Regions from separate parts of the Homo sapiens genome. Here region 2 is linked to region 1. Evidence: promoter capture Hi-C in human tissues and cell types (Jung and others, 2019). All regions are on one chromosome and are shown on one strand. The core of a region is centred on a gene start or on the middle of the fragment in contact, and the rest is flanking DNA. Distances in the headings are between cores, read along the strand shown. Region 1 holds the start of BICD1 (BICD cargo adaptor 1). Region 2 overlaps BICD1 (BICD cargo adaptor 1).

Evidence for each region. The method cuts DNA at HindIII sites, captures the fragments that hold promoters and counts their contacts. A contact is called where the count stands out against the background at its distance.
Region 2: a contact is called between a fragment that was not itself captured here and the fragment with the promoter of BICD1 in region 1, in 1 of the 25 tissues and cell types used here (pancreas).

What each region holds. Positions count from the first base shown.
Region 1 is chr12:32,104,857-32,108,612 of GRCh38, forward strand. BICD1 (BICD cargo adaptor 1) reads left to right here and starts at 1,991. Exons shown (of 10, transcript NM_001714.4): 1 at 1,991-2,688. The coding sequence starts at 2,476. It overlaps BICD1-AS1 (BICD1 antisense RNA 1), which reads right to left and starts at 2,606. Exons shown (of 3, transcript NR_185992.1): 1 at 2,538-2,606. RefSeq lists a silencer at 1,514-1,993 and enhancers at 2,354-2,433, 2,961-3,598. The HindIII fragment of the contact is 20,031 bases long and covers 1-3,756 here.
Region 2 is chr12:32,168,496-32,172,251 of GRCh38, forward strand. All of the region lies in intron 1 of BICD1 (BICD cargo adaptor 1), which reads left to right. Among named protein-coding and RNA genes, the nearest start is that of BICD1-AS1, 63 kb to the left of the region's middle. The HindIII fragment of the contact is 6,487 bases long and covers 1-3,756 here.

The sequences.
Region 1 (3,756 bases), core at 741-3,240:
TGCACATTTGGAATGTTTTCTCCTTTTATTTATTTATTTTTAGATCAGACAATCACAAGAGAATATTCTTTTGTTTTATTTTTAGATCAGACAATCACATGAGAATATTCTGTTGTGATCGCTGGCGTTTAGAAGGAAACTTGTCTGGTTTGTGAAGCAATGGAAAACACATCCAGACAGCCTGCTAGTGGAAACTTTGGAAGGGCACTGTCATATGCTTTTTCTCCCACGCCATCAACAAGTGTCCTTTTTTTTTTTTTTTTTTGAGATGGAGTCTCTGTTGCCTAGGCTGGAGTATAGTGGTGCCATCTGTACCCTCCACCTCCTGGATTCAAGCAATTCTCCTGCCTCAGCCTCCCAAGTAGCTGGGATCACAGGCGTGCACCACCATACCTGGCTAATTTTTGTATTTTTAGTAGAGATGGGATTTCACCATGTGGGCCAGGCTAGTCTTGAACTCCGGACCTCAAATGATCCATCCACTTCTGCCTCCCAAAGTGCTGGGATTATAGGCGTGAGCCACTGTGCCCGGTCAACAATCATCTTTTTTTTTTTTTTTTTTTTTTTTACCAGGTACACAATGATGGGAGAGTTGAGTCCTGCTTTCTAACTTAGAAAACGCATGTGTGTTCATCACCTGGTCACTGAGAAACAGCTCTGGAATAGGTGCCATGCAGAAGAAGAGAGGGAACTGGAAAGACCCACTGATCTGTGGGTCTCACAGCCTCCCGTTACACAGAAATTGCTTCTTTTCTCTCATGTTGCGTTCTTCCTCTTGATTCTCGACCCTTCTCCACTCTTTCATTTACTCCACTCTTACTTTGCTTTCACCTCCTTTTGTAACCGTTCATCATCACTCTTCATATGGATTAATGTGATTATCTTAAAAGCATGTAATATGTAGTTGCTGGGTTTGTATGAGTAATGAGTGAACCTGAAGCCAACATAATGATCCCGTTTAGTGCTCCCGAGTTAAGATTCCAGAGTTGCCTGACTTTGGACAAATCACATCTCCCTTTGCCTTTCACCCCCTGTAAACTGAGGATAATGGCTCTTACCTCAAAGCATTGTTAGGATTGGAGAGAACGCATGTTACATACTTAGAAGAATGCTTGGTATGGGTCTCAAGAACTCTTAGCTCTTATTGTTTAAAAAATGCTTATTACAGGGCATCGTTGGTATCTTATATAGGGAATTTCAAGCAGTTTTCCTTTATTGAAGACACAGAGTAAGGTGCTTTGATGGAAACTATTGGGGCAAGATATACAGTACCTAGCTAGAGGTTTCCTGGGTGCATGTATTGTGGAGATATTTTTTTTCTGAGTGGATAGCGCTCTTGTGATACGCTGGGTGAGGGCGAGCAATATTTAGCGGACTGTCCTGTGAGGATAGTAAGGTTATCTGGTGAGAGTGTTAGGTGGCCCAGGCCAGACTTGGGAGAGGCAGGGAGAGAGGGGGACGACGGAGGAGGGCGCCTTGGGGTGCGTCTTGAAAGCTTTGGGAAACCCAGCGGTCTTTTGGGGGCAGGTGGCCCAAAAAGCCTTCTGCGCGCCCAGGGGACGAGGAGGATGCGCGGACCGCGACCGCGATAGTTTTGTTTGCTTTTCTCGGGAGAAAGCGTTCCAGGCAGTTTCCTGAGCTTCGGCCCTCGACGTAGCAAAAGAGCCCGGGCGCCCACGCCGCTCTCGGGGTCTTCTACTGCCACCGGGACAAAGCCCTGGGAGGAGCTCCCGCCCCCGCGAGCCGGACAGGGCGGAGGCTCCCCCGCCGCGCGCGCCCCACCGCTTCCCAGTCCCAGACCCGTCGCCTGCGCCTCCTCCTGGCGCGCCTCACGGTGCAGCGGGCGGCGGCCCGCGCGCCCGGCGGGAGGCGCCTCGGGATGTTTCCGTCTGGTCCTTCCCTCCGCCCCCCGCGCTGACTCCATCCGCTCCCCGCCCCCTGCTCGGAGCCGCCGCCACGCGGGAAGGGAGGGAGCCGGCCCCGAGACTGCATCATTCCGCACCGGCTGCTGCAGGGCCAGAGGGAGCAGGTGGAGCGAGAGAGCGAGCCGCGAGCCGGAGCGCGCCAGACCCAGGGCGAGACTGCAGTGACGCGGCCCGGGAGACATGGCGGACGGGCGTCTCTGAATAAGCAGAATCCGGAGCCCCTCGCTACCCGCGGCCGCCGCAGCCCGGGCCATGCCGCACGGCTGCTGACCGCACGCAGGGGCCGGCCCCGAGGACACATGCGGCGGCCTTTGCCGCCTCGCCCCTGACCCTCTGCCCTGTTCTCCATGTTGCATTTCTCGTCAGTTTCTCGGGCGGTGTAGCTGCCGCTGCCACCAGAGCCGGCGGGGCATCGCGCTGCTCATTCATCCGGCCGCACTTTCTTTTCCGTTTCCACCCATCCCTTCCCATTTCCTTCTCCCTTTCCCCGCCAGCTTCGCATCCATCTCCCCCACCCCGTAACCCCCTCCTGCCTCCATCCACCGGGGCTATGGCCGCAGAAGAGGTATTGCAGACGGTGGACCATTATAAGACTGAGATAGAGAGGCTAACCAAGGAGCTCACGGAGACCACCCACGAGAAGATCCAGGCTGCCGAGTACGGGCTGGTGGTGCTGGAGGAGAAGCTGACCCTCAAACAGCAGTATGATGAACTGGAGGCTGAGTACGACAGCCTCAAACAGGAGCTGGAGCAGCTCAAAGAGGTGAGTTGCCTGTCACCTCTCCCTTTCCTGGCCCTCACTCCCCCCACCCGCAAGGCCCACTCATCATGATCAAGAAGTCATAAAGGAGGTGATTGAAAGGACTGTTTTTTCTTCTAGGGCCCTTTGTTGGTAAGAGAAGATTGAAAGAGTCCATTGTTTCCTCCCCCAAGAGAAAAATTGCCTAAGAAATGAATATATAAGCTGGAATTTGGGAGGCAATGGCTGTTTGGCCTGCGGGGGAGGGAGATTAGTAAGAGTCATCAAGTCTCAGCACTCTAAGACGACATTCAAGTGGGTTGGAATGTATAAATCAAACTTCTCAAAACCGCTGTTATCTCAAACCCAGGTTTCAGCGACAATTTCGTAGTCCACAAAAGTGATGAGGTTTGTGCCTGAGGACCCACAATTTCAGGATTTAGACTGTGTGGCACCTCAGCTTTCCTCTGGATGTAACCACTCCTTGGTGAGAGAGGGAACTCCTCACCAATCCCATTTGACAAAGGCTAGGCAATCTTCATTCTGCTTGGCTTTAGTCATTCTTGTCATTGGGCTGCAGAAGAAAAACAACTTTGCTGGGTGATCCCACTGCCTTGATTTCACCTCGGAGCGAGGCTGGGCCATGTCCAAGTCTTATGAGGTCACCCTGACTAGAAAAAATTGAACTCACCTACAAATAGTCTGAAAGAGTGGTGTATATCAAATACGTGGGTAGTGTTGCATTTCAAATGAGGCTCTTCTGGTTGAAATGATATATTTATAAAACCAGAATATCAAAAATGGGTGATGTATAATGTCTCTTTAGTTTTTTGGTATTTGGCCTCTTTTAAAGCCTGTCGGATGTATGGGAGAAAACAATGAACGTGCTTTGATTTCCTATCAGTCACTCTTAAGAACATACATATTGTTTAAGTAACTCGGTCTTTTTTATCTGATTCTTGAGGCACTATGGGTAGCAAATAACCACTTACAAATTTAAATGTAATATACACTCCTTTTCTGTGTGTCAAGTCCTTATTTTTAGGTGCATATTGACATTTAAATGTTAATTATTGTTTGGCATATAATATC
Region 2 (3,756 bases), core at 351-2,850, 63 kb after region 1:
TTGAGATTGAGGTGAGAACAGTTGCCTGAGAACAGGAACCAGAAAGTCCTAACAGCGGTCGATCACTGATAACATTTGTGCTGAAAACATTTCAGGCCCAAACTGTCTCAGCCATGCTGAGCAAGGCAGGAACTTGGGATGTGAACCACTCTCTTAATCGGGTCCACTGTGTATCCAAAGTTGACCCTTGAGGGCCAGGCACGGTGGCTCACTCCTGTAATCCCAGCACTCTGGGAGGCCAAGGCAGGTGGATCATCTGACGTCAGGAGTTTGAGTCCATCCTGGCCAACATGGTGAAACCCTGATAATACAAAAATTAGCCAGGTGTTTGTGGCGGGTACCTGTAATCCCAGCTACTCGGGAGGCTGAGGCAGGAGAATCGCTTGAACCCGGGAGGCGGAGGTTGCATTGAGCCGAGATCGCGCGATTGCACTCCAGCTTGGGCAACAAGAGCGAAACTTCATCTCAAACAAACAAACAAACAAACCCAAAATTGACCATTGAGAAAAACCCTTGCTTTGTGCCCATCTGTTGTGAGGAGATGGGACAGCCTTGCCCCTGCATGGAATCTGCTCAGGAGCTTTAGTTTCTGTAGTAGAAGGTGGGCTCTGTGATTAACTCTGTGGAGTTTAAGGATCTGGGTTCAGTGAGCACTCAGGCTCTGATGGGGAATTGTACCTGGAACGGTTAATTATCTCGTAAAAAGATCAATGGAAAAATTATTTTCAAGAAAAATAATAGATAAAATTTACCTACTCTGATACTTAGCACAATAAATATTTATTGAACTGTTGAATCTTTTCTAGGTATTTGAAGTTTTATTTTCAGGCTAGTGGCTTTTGAATTCTGCCACAGGAGAATTCAGTTCTCCTTCTGAGGCCTTCTGAGGAGGGGAGAGAGTGAAAGGAAGGGAAGAAGCAGCTTGGCCTGGACCCATTTTTTCCATTAATTTTTTTTTTCTTAGTAGAGACGAGCTCTCTGCTATGTTGCCCAGGCTGGTCTCAGACTCCTGGGCTCAAGCGATCCTCCCGCCTCGGCCTCTCAAAGTGTTGGGATTACAGGCGTGAGCCACTGTGCCCAGCCTGGACCCATTTTATATACTAGACTTTTCTAGAAGGTTCTCTTTGAAGAAAAGTTTTCTCTGCTAACCACACTTTGAAAAATTATTTCTGTAGGAAAATGATATATTATCCTTTGATAACCTAGGTCGCTGGACAGCTTTTGTTAAAAAGTTCTACCCATGTGGCTTTAGCTTCCAAAGATACACTTCCTTTTTTTGAGACAGAGTCTCACTGTGTTGCCCAGGCTGGTCTTGAACTCCTGGGCTCAAGTGATCCTCCTGACTTGGCCTCAGCCTCCCAAAGTGCTGGGATTACAGGCATGAGCCACTGCGCCTGGCCCCCAAGATACACTTTCACCAAACTGTGTTTCAAAGTTATGCTTTTAAATTGTATTTAAAGTTCATATAAGAACAGGCTTAGCTGTGACACTGTAGAGGCGAGAATGTGGAGTTGACACGGGTCCTTTTCACACTTGTTCCCCACACAGGGCCCACATGAAACCTGTCCCTGAGTTTAATCCTAAGAAAAACCTTGTTTCACTAGCAAATAATTCCCTTCTCTGAGAAGGCAAATTAATTATTTTATTTCCAACTTTCTCTTAGGCATCCTGAAATTCTGAGCTCAGTTTCATGCTCTGAAAAAGAAAAAATAACTGCTAGAGTCACAGAAATGGTATTGACTTTTTGGATTGGAATATTTGTTTTCTCTGTTCCTTACCTGTTTCCCCCTATTTTTCTTACTTCCTTTCCATTTTATTTTGTATGCCTCTTTGTAAGCTGCCTTAAATGCTTTTTGGAATGAGGCAGGATATACATTCAATAAATAAAATATGTCTGAGCCACTTATGAACAAAACCTTCTTGGGCCAGAGCCTAAACATTACTTATATAAAAAGACCTGATTCCTCACCTTCTACAACAATATTATTTAGTCATTTCTCTGCATTGTACTCAACTCTTTAAAGGTTATAGAATTGTAGTTAGCGTATTAGAAGGCTCATGGATCTAGATTCTATGTCCTCAGCAGGTGAAGTCTTTTTTACACAATGCCACTGTACGGATTGTAGAGTTCTTGGGCTGGCATAATTTTATGTGACCAAAATTTGGCAAAGGGTCTTATCAGTTTGAGGAGAGATTAGTGGAGCATTGAATTTCAGAGTTTGAAATGACATTAGAGATTATCTGGTCCAGTGATTCTCAACCAGGGAGACATTTGGTTATTTCCGGAGATATTTTTGGTCACAACTGAGGTGGGTGCTACTGGCTTCTAGGGATGGAGGTCAGGAAAGCTGCCAAGAACCCGACAGTGTACAGGACAGCCCCCACACCAGCATGTCACTACTGCCGAGGACGAGAAGCCCTGATCTAGCCAATCCTGTCATTTTTCAGACTCCAGGGAGTTTGTGACCTGACCTTCAAATATAAGATTTAATATTTAATTGCCCAAATTCATTCTTAAAATATAGCAAAATGATGAGAAATTTCCCTTCAAAACTGAGAACAAGACAAAGATGTCTATTATGATAGACCGTTCTTAGAAGTTTACTGCTCCTCCTGGGGATGCCTCTCAATAGAGAAATTCTACATTCCCGCCTGTTGAAAGCAGACATGGTTACTTGACTTGTTTGGGCCTATGAAATGTGAACAGAGGCGACACACGTCACGATCAGGTGGGAGACTTAGTAACACATGCCTGGTGTCCCATGCCCTTTTCCCTCTGCCAGTGTTCCAGGGCGTGGCAGGACTGCCAGCCTGGTCTTGGAGTCACAGCTGGGCCCCGAAGGCGATGCTGTGGGACCTGGAAATAAAGCTTTGCTGTTGTTTTAAAAATGGAATCACATTGTAAATTAGGATCCTGGGGAGCGTGGCACTAGGTATTCTTATGCAGAGCTAGATGGTGATGCTTTCCTTTCCTTATCACTTCAAGTCTGCAGACACAGCCTTCAGGGCGTTCTTCTTCTGTGGTTCCTCAGTTGGGGCACCTTGTCTGGAGTACACAGTAAGGCTATGCCACAGTCCTGCTATGACTGAGATGGCAATATGAGTGCTTTTCTTTGTTGGTGGTTTTTATATTTATGTTTAAAAAATTATAAACTAGGCTAGGCACAGTGGCTCACACCTATAATCTCAGCACTTTGGGAGGCCGAGGCGGATGGATCACTCTAGGTCAGGAGCTGGAGACCAGTCTGGCCAACATGGTGAAGCCCGGTCTCTACTAAAAATGTAAAAATTAGCTGGGCATGGTGGCGTGCACCTGTAGTCCCAGCTACTTGGGAGGCTGAGGCAGGAGAATTGCTTGAACCCAGGAGGCGGAGGTTGCCCTGAGCTAAGATCATGCCACTGCACTCCAGCCTGGGTAACAAAGCAAGACTTGGTCTCAAAAAATACACACACACACACACACACACACACACACACACACACACACACACACACTAAAACTGCTGACATTGAGCATTATACAGTAAGACAGATTTTCCTTCCTTGTTTCTTTGCATCAATTTTCTCTGCCTCTCCCTCCGTTCCTTTTCTGTTTGCTTCTACTCAGGACTGGGCACGAATGCACACATTGCTGTCTGGCTTGTATCTATGTGGTAAGTCTAGAATGATCAGTTACTGAAAGAAGAGGGAATCAGTGCTAGTGAAGGATATAGGTTGTGGTTAACTGGAGTTCCCAAGTAGCTGGATCTTTTGTGA